2 separate regions of the Homo sapiens genome follow, and region 1 is linked to region 2. The links are contacts of gene promoters, found by promoter capture Hi-C in human tissues and cell types (Jung and others, 2019). All regions are on one chromosome and are shown on one strand. Each heading gives the region's core, a stretch centred on a gene start or on the middle of the fragment in contact. The rest is flanking DNA. Distances are from core to core; before and after follow the strand shown.

Region 1 (4,432 bases), core at 796-3,295, 220 kb before region 2:
TAGAAACCTAAGAATAGCATTGTACGAGGAGTGGAAACAAGTCATAAGAAACATAACATTTCTTTTAAAACCTCTTAAATTCCTCTGCCCCTCCCCATCTCTGTCAAACACAGAGAAAGAATACTGCATTACAAACAAAGATGTGTTTCCGTGAAATGATGTAAACAAGTCAGAGAGAAAGATTTCTTCATTTTCCTATTTTGTGGAGTGGGGCAGTGGGATATCAGTTAAATAAGAAATAGAGCTCCTTAATCAAAGAACCACTTCATTACACACAAAACAGCTCGGGGCAACTGCTGAAAACTTCTCCTGTGTTTCCTTTCCTTTTCCCCAAAGTTTGAGAATGTTTGAAAGTTCAATAAATAGTAGAAAAATAATCCTTTACTTAGAAATTCTGAGATGCATCGTTTAGAGCATAACATGAGTTCCATACAGCAACTGTGGTATCCAGGTACCGCTAAGAAACAAAGCGAAATCTTCAATGCACACATTTGTATCTGCATGTGCCACATTCCAGTCTCTGGGTGAGCAGATTTTTCTCTCTTCCAGTTAAGGAGAGCTGAATGCTTCTGGCTCTTTGGAACATTCCTCTGGCTCAGCTTCACTTGCAGGTTCCGTCTCTGTGTTTGGAGGTTCGCCTTCTGTTACCTTCCATTAGTGTTATGGCAGGTCTGTTCATCAGGCTTATTTCCCCTCCATTTCAGAACCAGCCTCACATCTTCACAAATGTGACTGTGTTGTTGTTTCTCTCGTTTTTAACCATGTCGACAGGCAGGAAATGACTCAAACAACTCTGCACAAAGCACAAACACAAGGGAGGTCTCTTGCTGTGGGTTTTAAGCCGGTTCTTTTTCTTTCCAGAACATTCTGTAGCTCCCAGATCTCATCTTGGCGTGGAGGTGAGGAGATTGTTAGCATTCTGCATCGACAGTGTGTACCGTGACGGCCGCCTGTAAGTGGTGGCTATGATGAAGTGTAGGGTGGTGTGACCGGTAGTGGTGGAACTTGTGACTTAGTAGGGCAGCAGTCTGAGGGGGGGTATCCAGGTCTAAGTCCTCATCATGGTTTCCCACATCGACCCCGGCTGACAAGGGGTCATTGTTGCATGGAGGATTTTCACTGTCCTCCTGTGGGCTCATGGTGCTGTAACCTAGAAAAAGAACAAAACAAACACACAGCTGAGAGCTTCAAGACGCAGACAGAAGATTTCACCTACAATTTCTAGGGCACTGGGAGGTATTCCTGTCTTTGCAATACATAGGTGCAAACACTGGCAGACTGTCAGCAGATGCTAAAGTAATTTATTTTTAAAGAGATTTAGTGATAACTCTTTTTTTCCCTTAAAAAACAATGACACAATAAATACATAACCACTTCAGACAGCTGAGAAAGTACAGAGGAGAAAAAAAAAATAAACAAGAACCCTTATCCCAAATCCCCAAACCAGCAACACAAAAATGAAAATCACACTACATCCCATCATCCATGGCGAGCCACCACTGGGGACCTATCTTTCTACACTTTTACCTATGATAAAGATAATCTTTTTTATTAAAGAAATCCAAAAAATGGACAGCTTCAAGAAGAAGATCTGAACAGGATTCAGATCAACTGGGGCTGGTGCGGAAATCTGGGCTTCCGCCTGAATGCCTGAATGTGACGCCACAATAGAACAAAAAGAACCATCACCATCACCTGCGTGCTTGCTTGGTAGCAGGCACTTGTGTCAGGCAATTCTTGCACACCAATGGTGATATATTTTAATATACATTTTACAATTCAGGGAAATGATGATCAGAGAGGTTAAGGAATTTGCCCAAAGTTCTAGTGCCTAATGAAACACTAACTCCACATATACCCAGGGCAACTAGCTGTGCAATCAGCTATTCTCTGTGTTAGCTGCCCCCCACCCCATTTAAATTTAATTTCTTTTGGTATTCTAAGTAATACATGTTTCAAAGGCAAATGCCCTTGCTGATCAAAGGATTCCATTCTGAGATTCCTGGCATGTTTTTAAATATTGCAAAAATCTCCTTTAAACATTTTAAGAAGCAACAGCTCATTAATATTTCCATTGCATCTACAGTTAGCGTCAATCAGCACTTACCCGTGGGTAATGCTAGTCACATTCATGGCTGCAAAATTGATGTTCTTGCATGCAGCCAAGCAGGAGTCATTGGTGGTTGAAATTGTATGCTCTGTGCAAAAATTCTGTCCTCAATGAAACATTACTCAAATGATAGAATTATTTAGCTGTCAGTCCAACTTAACAAATATTTACTGCGTACCTATAATATACAAGTCACTGTGTTGGGCACTGGAAGACATATAAAGATGAAAGCCTGGTCCCTGCATAGGGAGCTCAAAAGCTAATGTTTGAGAAATGAAACAAATATCAGCATTGGTCATTCACTTATTCATTTATTGGAGACCATTATGGGGCTGGAGCGGGAGAAGAGGAAACACGAATAAGAGACGTCATCTTTCCCTAATGATTTTACAGTTGAGTTTGAGACAGATGCTCACAAAACAAAGCCTCCTTTTACACAGATAATGGTAAGTGCTATAACTGAGGTATAATTAAAATCCAGAAGAGGGAATATCTAATTCTGCCTGGGGGAATAAGGAATCTTCAGAGAATGTATATTTTAGTTGGGCTTAAGTGGATGAGTAGGAGTTTGATAAGTGGATATAAAGAAAGGAACAGGATGACCACAGCCATAGAGGTGTGGATATAAAGGCCATCCCTGTTCCATGTGGCTTGGATGAGTGCTAGCAGGTAGCTGGAGGGTAGGGCAGGTGGGAGGCATGAAGTTAAGTCAAATCATAAAGCCCGTGCCGAAGAGTAGCAAATGGAGAGACCACACAAGATACTGAGCAGGCCAAAAAATGGCATGATCATTTGTGTTTAGAGGATGGTGGTTTGGGAGATGAAGCGAAAGGAAAGACAGGGAGCAGTTAGGAGGTTATTTCAACAGCCCGCGTGAGGGATAGAGAATTAAACTAGGGCAGTGGGATTGGACAGATTTAAAAGCTATCTCAGTGGTGGAGGCAAGAGAAATTGGTAAGTCATCAGATGTGGGGGACTGTGGGGGTGAGGAGTAGTGAAAGGTGACTACAACTTCAAGTTATAAGGATAAGAAAGGACAACTCACAGATTGAGTCTCAGGAAAGAAGACACATTTTGTTTATGCACAGCTTGATTTTGAGACTCTGTTGGTCACATATGTGGAGATGTCTAGCCAGAATCTCAGAAGTGTCATCTGCAAATTCAGGGCAGAAGAGGAAGTGTTCACTGACATATGTGTCCACCATAAGCATGGTCGGGCCTGGTTAGTACTTGGATGGGAGACATGTGTGTCCACCATGACTGAGTGCCTTCTTGGTGCCAGGTGCCAGGCTAGAGGCTGGACAGGAAAGGGCTAAGGTGAGGCCTCAGCTCCTGAGAGGCCTACCTTAGGGCAAGAAGGGGAAACACCCATGTGCTAAAACAGAGGCACACAAAAGGAATTCCAAAGCCAATGGACTTGGCTTAGATCCTTGAGGTGACAATTGGGTAGACCTGATGGGAGAAAAGGGGCTAAGTAGGTAAAGACAGGGGTGTAAAGGTACCTCCAGCAGGGCCCAAGCACATGCAATGGTACAACAGCTGGAAGGGCTCTGGTGGCTTCTGGGAATGGTGAAAGCTTGGTGCTGGGGGTTGGGGCGGTGGGAGATGGCACTGGACAGATAGGCTAAGACCAGGTCAAGAAGGCTGGCTGAAGCTATGAGCTATGATCTAGTAGTGGACAGTGGGAGTGGTCAGGGGGCAATGGGGAGGCTGGACAGAAGGAAGGTGGGATCAGAGGCTCAGAGGACAGGGTGCTGGAGCATGGGCCTCGAGGAGATGGCAAGGACATAAAGTAGGGCAGTCGCAGTGTGTGGACTGTTCAAGTGCACAGTAGGCTGGATTTGGTGACCAAATGGACTTGCCTGGTGAAGATGCCAGGGAGCTGACATCCTTGGAAAAGGTCGAGGTTTCTAGGTTCAGATACTGAGCAAATAGTGATGCCCTTACCCAGGATTAAGAGACCAGGAGCCAGAATAGGTTTCTCAGCTTTAGCAGTGCTAAGTCTGGAGTGTTAGATTGGGTGCTAGGCTCCAGAATCTAAGTCACAAACTGCTGTGCATATTAAAACCACCTTATGCTATACATGTAAAGGATTAAAGTAGAAAACAGGATTTTAGCAAAATCCCAGTGATTATTCAAACACTTCCTGGATAGCTTCCCGTCTCTGCTCATTTACAAGCACCCACACACTAACTGATAATTCATGTTAGCATTCGAGGTGTTAGATTCATGGTGGCCCTTCTGCTTGGCTCACCCTCCCACCTTCCTCATCTTGCTATTGTGCCTCATGCTTCAGTTGGAAAGTCTTCTCTGGGAAGCTTT
Region 2 (4,459 bases), core at 9-2,508:
GGACTTCGGAAAATCGTCCGAGCCAGACGGGGCTGGCTGCTCTGGGATGGGGACACAAAGGGGGAGTTTGCAGGCGTGGCAGGGTGAAAACAAGCCTACATGGGAAATGTGTGCAAATTAGAGAAGACGTGCGAGGAAACTGGAGAATCCTTGACGAGATGAAGGCGCTGGTACTCAGAAGAGGGGGGCTGTGCAGGGTCAAGTGGGTTCCGTGCAGAGGGCAGGGGATTCTCCAGAGAAGGGCAGGGGTAGACGAATGCATGGAAGAAGAGTTGGTGTATTGTCAGGGGGTCTGTGCAGAGGACAGAGGGGTCCGACGGGAAGCCGGGCTCTATGTATGCAAGGAGCCGATGCACACAGTCCAGGGGACTTGTACCGGGAGTGGGATGGGAGTTTGAGCAAAGGAGAAAGGCGGGATGTCTGGCCAGCTCGGGGGCCACTTACCTGCATGGTGACGACCCCCAGCTCCTCGGCCGCCAGCCTCCGCATCTGGCTCGCCAGCACTTGCGCCTCGTCCAGGATGGAGAAGTCGGCTTCGGCCCCGGCGCCCAGGAGCCAGCACGCGACCAGGCAGAGCAGCCAGAGGGGCGGCCGCCGCGCCCGGGCCACGGCCGTCTCCTCTTCCTCCGGCTGGCGGGCCATGCTGCCTCCCCCCACTCCCCGCCGACGGGCTCCGGGCGCGGGGAAGCGGGCCGCGGGAGGTGCCCCCCGCAAAAGCGCGGCGCACCCCGCAAAAGTTTCTTCCTCTGTTGCAGGCTCTGCTCCGCGCCGCGGTGGCGAAGGCTCCCAAACTTAGGGGGCGCCCGGCTACAGCGCGGGAGCGCGGGCGGCCACCATCGCGGGGCTCCGCGGCGGTGGGGGTAGGAGGCGGCCGCCCGAGCGGTCCCCGGAGCCCGGCGCCCACACGGGCCCCGCGGCGCAGAGGGCGTCTCCGAGAGCAGGGGCGCCCGCAGGCCGGGGTGCGCGGGCCCCGGGGCTGACAGTCGGAATCGGAGTCGGAGTCGGAGCCCGAGCCGAGCCGCGCGGCTCTCGCTTCCTGCGAGTCCCAGCGCAGCGAGCAGGCGGCGGCGAGGACTGACGGCGGCCCCCGGGGAAGAGGAGCGGCGGCCGGGCTGCGAGACTGGGGCAGCCACCCGAGCGAGGAGGGAAAGGGGAGGCTTCACAAACCCACACAACTGAAAGAAAGAAAGCAAGCGGTGGGGAAAGGGAGGCGTCTGGTGCCACCACGCTGCGCTCCGGCTCTGTGCACTTCCCGGCTGGGCCGCCGCGGCGGCTGCGGTGATTTATGGAACCAGCAAGAGAGGCGGGGAAATTCCCCCGGTTGCCCCTCCTCTCTCTCCCTGGCTCCCGCCTCAGAACCTGCCCCCCGGGACGCCGGGGGCCGGGGGACCAGCCTCTCTCTCTGCTCGGGGACCGGCCCAGCCCGGGCAGGGGAGCCCACGGACCTTCCCGTGGCTGGAGACGGAGACCCCCGCCAGCGCTCCCCGCCTCCGTCCGCGCCAGGGAGCCCACCCGGCCCAGGTTCCAGCCATCGAAAAGTCCTTTAAGTTCTAGGACGCTGGCTGTCTGCCTGGCAGCGGTTGGGGAAGAAGGGGACTGCCATGTGTAGGTCCACTCCCTCTCCTTGATGTTATTCATCACAATGGCTAGCTAGCGTTCCACCCACAGATTTCTGTTGCAACCAGCCACCGTGTGCCCGGCACTGGGCTCGGGGGTGTGCACATTATCCTTTAATCTCCGCGACATGCCATAGGAGGTACGTATCTTTATCCCAATTTTTTAGGTAACAAAGACTGAGGCTTAGAGAGGTGGAATAAATTGCCAGAGGTCACCCAGGGGATAAGAAACAAATCCAGAGTTTAAGCACAAGTCTTACTCCAAGGCTATTGCTCCTAAATACGATACAGTTCTCTCTGTCTCTCTTTGGAAATGAACCATCTGATCCCATCAAAAGCAAGAAAAAAGAAAAAGAACGACTGAACCGGAGTCCACCGCGCACACACCTGTTCTCCCAAGCATGGAGAGGCAAGGTTAACCTTCCTGTTTGTCCCTGACTACTGGCTCAGGCTCGCTGAGAAATCACCTGTTGGAAGCACCTGGAACAAGTCAACCTGCTGTGTGTGGAGAACAGCCACTCTCCCTTCCAAGCCCTGTGTGGTTGCTGCTTGCAGGTTCCTGGAGAACAGAGCCAACACTGGAAGGTTAAAGGACTAGTCCAGGGTTACCTAGCAGAGGTGGTAGCAGGATTAGAACCTGGATTTAGGACTCTTTTCATTTTACAGCAAAACCTTCTGTTTTACATCTTTGACTATATTGTATTAAAAAGTCATCTTCTCTTGTAAGCTCTCCCTGGCCCATTTTTACCTCATTGAGATCACTTCTCCATTCTCAACTCCCCTGCTAATTTTTGTATTTTTAGTAGAGACAGGGTTTCGCCATGTTGGCCAGGCTGGTTTCAAACTCCTGACCTCAGGTGATCCACCTGCCTCGGCCTCCCAAAGTGCTGAGATTACAGGCATGAGCCACTGCGCCTAGCCTGTGATGTTTGTTTTACATACTAAGGCAAGCATGTTGAGTGTGGGGACCAATCCCTTCACCTCCACATCATCCACACAAGCACATAGTAGTACTGGAAAAATGATTCTTGAGTTAATAATGAGGTAAAAACCTACCTGTATGTCTTCTATTCCTGGAGTTGAGCTGACATTTGTTAGAAAGATGATCCTTTAACTTCCGTTTTTTAAATTGTTGTACCTTTGACATGACACTCCGCAAGAGAAAGCATATTAGTCCATGTGATTAGTGGAAGAGTAAAGAACAAAAATAATAATGACATATAGCATTATTTTTTTATTTGATTCTTCAAGGTTACCATCACCAAGGTGTCACACATCTCTAAACTCCTTCTGAAATGCCTTCACAATAGGCATTTATTGCCCATCTTTTATATGTTGGTATTTCTTGAGGTCCTATTTCTTGGGATGCTAATCCAATGTCACCTTTTTTTCACTCTAAGGTTCTTCTTTTTGAGGACTCTCGACCACATCTATGCCTTCAATTATTACCAAACACGAGTTTATCATACTTCTAAATAAAGCTCAACCTGGATCTCCATTTTTTCTAGCAAGTTCCTGACTTCTCTAGTAGATATACCTGAATGAAAACTCATTACTGCTTTCCCCCATGTTCCACCTAAATCCATGTCTGGCTGCAAATCTAGGTGGATGTCACCCACTCTGCAAGCTAGGTACGCACTCTCCATCCACCCCAGCTCCCAACATATCTCCCGTGTCCATCCCCCGCTGTCCATCTGCATCCTATGGCCTGACTTCAGTTCCTCATTGCAGCTTGCCTGTATTATGACCAGTCTCCTCATGGGTCTCTGTGCAGTCTCTCTGTTCCCCCTCATTCTGTTCTTCACATGGAAGTCAAAATCAACTTTCTAAAAGTCAAATCTCAACTTGTCATTCACTAATCTAAACATTTCTGATGCCCCATCACAGATAAGTAAACTTAACAAACAAGGCCCTTTGTGCTCTGACCCTGTTTGCTCTTCTGGCCTTTTTGTAGCCACTGTGCCCCTCAGTTGCCTCACCACTCCCAGAAAACACCTATATGGCAGCCTCAAAATTCTTCCCCTTCTCTCCACTTGCTAGGTCCCCTATTCAGCTGAGGTGTCATTTCTGTGACACCTACCCCCACAGAGTTTACGGCTCCTCTTTGGTGCTCCAAAGCTCTTGGTTCTTCTCTCAGCACTTAATGTCCCCTCAGCGCTTAACAAGCAACATTGTGATTTTCCACTTGAAAGCTTTGATTTCTCCACCTTGTTTCTCAAAGTGTGATCCACCAAACACACTAGCCTCAGGACACTTAATAAACTGCAAATCCTGTGCTCTATTCCAGGTCTACTAAAGCAGAATCTTTGGAGGTGGGGGGTGGGTCCTGGAATATGCATTTTATAGACCCCCCTTCCCCGCCCTGACATTAGTCTTATGAACTAATGCTAGACTGCAAGCAAGCTTGCCAGGATGGTAACTCATGCATCCTGGAGCTCTATTTAGCCCAGTGTCTATAGCTAGGAGGGTCTCAGTACCCGGAAAGGAACTTATGGCTATTCCTATGTTGCCAATAGAGAAAAGCCTCAAAGAAATAAAGTTATTTGCCCAAGGTAATACAACTTTTAGATGGTGGTGTCAGTATACAAACCTGGGCCTTCAAACACCAAAGCAAAAGCTCTGAGCTACTAGTCTGACGTCAGAGAGAACATTTACCCACATGTGTACTGGTACATGATAGACCAATAAAAGCTTATTGTGTGATATACTGCCAATCCTTAATGTTCCTCATCCATATAAGTGAAATTGTCCTACCCATCAATCTCTGCTCAGTACTAGTTGATTCTTTCCCAGGGGGGGTCAACTGATGGGACCAGGATAGATATGTGACATCAAGGCAACCA

The links. The method cuts DNA at HindIII sites, captures the fragments that hold promoters and counts their contacts. A contact is called where the count stands out against the background at its distance.
Region 1: a fragment that was not itself captured here is called in contact with the fragment with the promoter of CACHD1 in region 2 in 2 of the 25 tissues and cell types used here (bladder and neural progenitor cells).

What each region holds. Positions count from the first base shown.
Region 1 is chr1:64,688,041-64,692,472 of GRCh38, reverse strand. It overlaps CACHD1 (cache domain containing 1), which reads right to left. Exons shown (of 27, transcript NM_020925.4): 27 at 1-1,150. The coding sequence ends at 912. Among named protein-coding and RNA genes, the nearest start is that of RAVER2, 55 kb to the left of the region's middle. The HindIII fragment of the contact is 8,353 bases long and covers 1-4,432 here.
Region 2 is chr1:64,466,928-64,471,386 of GRCh38, reverse strand. CACHD1 (cache domain containing 1) reads right to left here and starts at 1,258. Exons shown (of 27, transcript NM_020925.4): 1 at 445-1,258. The coding sequence starts at 642. It overlaps LOC107984966 (a long non-coding RNA gene), which reads left to right and starts at 1,362. Exons shown (of 2, transcript XR_001738100.2): 1 at 1,362-2,201; 2 at 3,017-3,114. RefSeq lists a silencer at 929-1,048. The HindIII fragment of the contact is 8,534 bases long and covers 1-4,459 here.